Linked DNA regions of Homo sapiens: region 1 is linked to region 2. Evidence: promoter capture Hi-C in 16 types of primary human blood cells and fetal thymus (Javierre and others, 2016). All regions are on one chromosome and are shown on one strand. Each heading gives the region's core, a stretch centred on a gene start or on the middle of the fragment in contact. The rest is flanking DNA. Distances are from core to core; before and after follow the strand shown.

What was found. The method cuts DNA at HindIII sites, captures the fragments that hold promoters and counts their contacts. A CHiCAGO score of 5 or more calls a contact.
Region 1: a fragment that was not itself captured here is called in contact with the fragment with the promoter of GPD2 in region 2 in 3 of 17 cell types (M1 macrophages, M0 macrophages and M2 macrophages); the score reaches 7.2 in M1 macrophages.

Annotation. Positions count from the first base shown.
Region 1 is chr2:157,436,165-157,438,938 of GRCh38, forward strand. All of the region lies in intron 1 of CYTIP (cytohesin 1 interacting protein), which reads right to left. Among named protein-coding and RNA genes, the nearest start is that of CYTIP, 6.5 kb to the right of the region's middle. The HindIII fragment of the contact is 4,220 bases long and covers 1-2,774 here.
Region 2 is chr2:156,435,075-156,437,774 of GRCh38, forward strand. It overlaps GPD2 (glycerol-3-phosphate dehydrogenase 2), which reads left to right and starts at 1,305. Exons shown (of 17, transcript NM_000408.5): 1 at 1,305-1,439. RefSeq lists silencers at 407-576, 1,017-1,426 and an enhancer at 817-866. The HindIII fragment of the contact is 5,965 bases long and covers 1-2,700 here.

The DNA.
Region 1 (2,774 bases), core at 221-2,720, 1.0 Mb after region 2:
ATTCTCTAGTCTTGCTAAAAAGTATCTCTTTTCAATTTATAAGCACTAACTGTGGAATGCCTACAAGGATTGGTATGGTTTGTTGTAACCTGATTTTGTACCTCGTATGTACCGTTACCAAGGATAGGGACTATTCATCTATGTTAGTGGGCTTCCTTGCAGAAGAGAGCCACAAACTTGATATTTCCAAGCATTCTCAGTCTCTCCCTTATATTGTACTCATATTTTCTTAATCTATTTTTATTATCTTCAGCTGCTTGTTTTCCGCCCTTAAGCCAAATTACGTAATGATAACTAGGGCTTTTTTATTCTTTTTATAAAAGTTTCTTATACCTCTATAAATAAGGGCTTATATTTTTAAGGTATTACTCTTGCTATCAGTATTCATCATATTATTCATATATCCATATAGAGAGAGCTATATATATATGTATACATATATGTATATATTTATATGAAATGCATACTGGATCAAATACTTCACATCTGTACATAATCATCTGTGTGATTTGGACCTCTTGGGGAATGTTATTTGTTTTACTTTCTGCCCCAATGCCCAACACAGGGCCTGGAATAGAATGGAAACTTAAAAATGGAGAAATAGATAAAAATAAATAAACTACTAAACGAAAATGGAAGCAACTGAGATGGTTGAAGAGCCACATTAAATATTCACGTTCAGGAGAAATATGTAAAGATAGTCTTCAACATTGTCCTTTATTAAATTCAATATCATAGGAAAAACTCAAGGATAATCACTAAAATACATAAAGTAAAATTTAAAAATCTTAAATATGTAGCAAGATTTAAAAATGAAAGAAAACAGACAACTGTATATCCATATGCAGAAGAAAGAAACTAGACCATACCTCTCACTCTATACAGAAATCAACTGAAAATAAGTAAATGGATCAAAACCTTCATGTAAAACCTGAGACAATAAAACTACTGGAATAAAACATAGGGGAAAGGCTTTAGCATATTGGATTGGGAAAAAATTTTATGAATAAGACCTTCAAAAAACAGGCAACAAAAGCAAAAATAAACTAATGGGGTTATATTAAACTAAAAAGATTCTGCACAGCAAACAATTAACAGAGTGAAAAGACTACCTGTGGAATGGAAGGAAATATTTGCAAACTACTCATTTATATATCCAGAATATATAATGAACTAAAATACCTCAACAGAAAAAAAAAAATTTAAAAATGGGCAAATGATCTGAACAGACGTTCCTCAAAGGAAGCTATACAAGACTGGGCATGGTGGCTCACACCTGTAATCCCAGCACTTTGGGAGGCCAAGGAGGGTGGATCAACTGAGCTCAGGAGTTCAAGATCAGCCTGGCCAACATGGTAAAACCCCGTCTCTACAAAAATACAAAAATTAGCCAGGCATGATGGCAGGTGCCTGTAATCCCAGATACTAGGGAAGCTGAGTTGGAAGAATCGCTTCAACCCGGGCGGCGGAGGTTGCAGTGAGCTGAGATCATGCCATTGCACTCCAGCCTGGCGACAGAGTGAGACTCCATCTCAAAAAAAAAAAGAAAAAAAAAAAAGAAAGGAAGAAAAAGAAGACATACAAATGGCTAACAAATATATGAAAAAATGCTCAATATCACTCATCATTGGGGTAATGGAAATTAAAACCACAATGAGGTATCATCTCACACCAGTTAGGATAGCTATGATCAAAATGACAATAAATAATAAATGCTGGTGAGGATAAGGAGAAAAGGGAACTTTCATACACTGTTAGTGGGAATGTAAATTAGTACAGCCACTATGGAGAACAGTATGGAGGTCCCTCAAACAACTACAAATAGAACTACCATATGATCCCGCAATCCCACTACTGGGAATTCATCCAAAGGAAAGGAAATCATTATATCGAAGAGACATCTGCACTCCCATGTTTATTACAGCACTATTCACAATAGCCAAGAGATGGCATCAGCCTAGGTGTCCAACAACAGATGAATGGATAAAGAAAATGTGGTATATATACACCATGGAATACAATTCAGCCATAAAAAAGAATGAAATCCTGTCATTCACAGCAACATGGATTGAACTGGAAGACATTATGTTAAGTGAGATAAGCCAGGAATAGAAAGTTAAACACCACATGTTCTCACTCATATGTGGAAGCTAAAAAAAGTTGATCTCATAGAAGTAAAAAGTAGAACAGAGGATACTAGAGGCTGGGAAGGGTTGGGGGAAGAAATGGATAGGGACACACTTGTTAAAGGATAAAAAATTACAGCTAGATAGGAAGAATAAGTTCTAGTGCTCTATACTGTAGGCTAACTATAGTTAACAATAGTATATCATGTACTAGTTTCAAATAGTTAGAAGGAGGATATTCAACAGTCCCAAAATGAAGAAATGATCATTGTGTGAGGGAGGTGATGGATATGCTAATTACTCTGATCTGATCACTGTACATTCCACGTATCAAAACATCACTATGTATACCATGAGTATGTATGATTATATATCAACTGAATAAGTACAAATTTTAAAAACCAAAAAATTTTAAATGAAAGAAAACAGACAAGAACAAAAAAAAAAATTCAATCCGAAACAAGAAATGCAGAAAAAGTACTAACAGAAAACAAAGATAGTAGTGCCTTAGTACATAGCTGCTAAGTGGATGAATGGTGGCAAGAATTAATAAATTATTAGTAAAATTTTGAGCCTTGTCAATTTTAAATACCCTTTTAGTATGCCGGAAATCAGTGCATCTATTAGGAACTTCAAGATTTCATCCAA
Region 2 (2,700 bases), core at 55-2,554:
CCCTGAAGTTACTGAGTTTGGGATTTAATAAATATATGCATTCCTCTGGGTCAACTACAGGAATTCTGCGGTATTTAAGGACATTAAATGAGTGACTTAATACTTTATTTAAAAAAATACCACTGCTTTTTGGTTCACACTAATTTTCTTCCTTCTTTTGGAAAGGCATTTCCGTCCATCTCCTGGATATTTTCCAATACCACGATAGAAAGGTTATTAGTACAGCACCCAGAGGTCTTCGGAGCAAAGCTGTTAAAGAAGTGGGGTCCATTTGAGCCCCAACTTTGCCTTCCTTAGGTCCCCTTGGGCTTGTCTAGCCCTAGGAGTTCCAACAAGTAAGCTGGGCATGCTCAGTGGGCAGGGTCGTTTTTTTTTTTTGGGTGGCGGGGGGTTGCAAGTGGGAAGCCTGCTGTTCAGCTGCCGGGGCTCTCCGCCTCCCCCCACCTGTATGAGGCTGGGTCTGGGGAACCTGTGCTCAGCATTCCACCCCCTGGAGCTTGGGCTTGGTCTTCCCTGCGGGTCCCTGCGCTGACATTCAGGCGGGGAGCCAGGAGGCCTGGCGCGCCTCCAGAGCCCGCCGGGGGAGCCGGGCGAGGGTTCTGGGCTCTGACGGCGGGGTCGCAGGGTCGCCCGCCTCCTGGACACGTCTGTAGGCCTAGGGAAGCCTGCCGGCCGGGAGGTACAGAGTAGGAGAAGCCAGATCCCAGGGCGGACAACGAGAAGTCGTCAGGTAAGCCAGCCCCGCCAGCGTGCCGGCGGACGAGTGTCTCCTCTCCCGCAGGCAGATGGCCAGGGCGGCCCGCATGGGCGAGGGCACAGGAAATCGGACACCGCCACCGTCTTCCCCAGCCTGGCCTAGCTCAGGCTTTCCAGTCCGCCAGCCCGCTGGCAAGGCGGGGCGGAGGTCTGGAGTCCGGCATCGCCGAGGCACAAAGCAGGAACTGCAGCCAGGGGCGAGGGCCCTTGCGTGTGGCGCTGCGCGACCCCACCCGGCGGCAGGACCCGCGTCCCCGTCTAGTCACGTTCATTGGGCCACGGAGACCACCTCGCTCGCCGCCCGCTGTTGGCTTTTCCCTCCCACACCCCCGCCAACCCCGGCCCCGGTTCCCGCCCCCACTTCCGCGTTTCCCCGCTGGGCCGGAGGAGCCTGGGCCCGAGGTATCCGGGCAGGAGGTGGCGGCCTCGCCGCCCTGGTCAGGCCTCCGGGAGGGAGCAGGCGCGGGAGCGGGAGGAGGAAGTCGGGAAGAGGGAAGGCGGGGGCGCGGCCCGCCCGGCGCTCGAGTTACACCCGCCCAGCCCGCCTCGAGTGACAGCCCCGCGCGCCTCGCTGGGAGCACCCGGGCCGAGGCTCTGATTCTGGGGGGAGGCCGACTCCACCCTGGCTGGAGGAACTGGGTGCTCCTGCCCGCTGGCCCCTCGCGCGTGAGGATCTATCTCAGGTGTGTGCTTCCTGGGAGACCCCTTCCCCCGCCTCTAGTATTCTAGGGGGGGAGTGGTCCCTTTCTGACCCGGGCGAGTGTTCTGGGACTCCAGTCTTGGCGGTAGGTGGTGGCGGGAAACGGGAAAGATTTAGAATTTCTTCCCACCAGCAGAAGATGGATTCGCTCTTCTCTAGGGTTTCGTTGTTTATGTTTTGGAGGCGGCATTTGTAAAATAGTAAAGTGGCAGGACTTTTGGGGCGAGGGTTGGTACCCCATTGAAAGTTCATGCAAACTTTTAGCTTGTAGATGCGGCTAGTCTGATAAGGATTGTTGCTCCCTTCCGAAGCAAGAGTGAGAACGAGTCTGGAGGAGGGCTGAGGCTTCTTTGAGAAACTCAGCTGCTGGCGTGTGACCGTCCTAGGAGGAAATGGAAGGTGCACACTGATAACTTAAAACAGCCTCCACTCCCTATGTAGTAACTTCTACCAGCAAAAATAGATTTGCAAAGAGTGCTTTGGCAGGAAGGTGTAGCTGGGTGAATGAAGTGCTGCTCTTAGCAGATGGTCTCTAGTCTGGCTTCCACCTTGTGCAGTGGAATATTCACTCCCAGAAGAGTTCCAGAGTAATTTACAAACACAAATTCTTGCAAAGTGTTAGTGACATGGGCAACCCAAATCACACACAACACATTATAAATATCATAGGAGGCAGCTATAGAAATAGCAGCTAGTCAACTTATACTTGTATAAATAGGTGAGGGAAGGAAGTTAGTAAGTGACAGGGAGTCTTTATTGCTAAAACAAAACTGTTAGTATTTTGCATGTGTTCCAAGTTTAAAGAGATGTGAAGTTTCTTTTTGGCGTGTGGACGGTGCTGGCAGCTGTCACACTGGGCCCAGGCACTTCTTCGTAGCTACTGACCACTCTAGTCCCAGTCCTACAGTTCTTGCTGGCTACCACATGACATCTGGATGCCATTGCCCAATGGAGACCGTGTGCAGTCTGGGGAACCTTGTGATGTGGATGTTGAAACCCCCCTCTGTTTCTCACAGGGGCGTTATGTCAAATTACAACACTCCCTTGACTTTTACAAATCAACTCGTGAAATAATACAGCAATATTTTAATGAATAAATGGGTAAATATGGGGTTTTGGGTTTGAGAACCAACAATGGATTCATTGCAACTGTCCATTCTCATAGCTTATAGAGTCACTTTATTTTATAAAGAAATTCTAAACAGCATTAGAGCTCTGCTTCCTTCTTTCTCCCTTGTGATTCA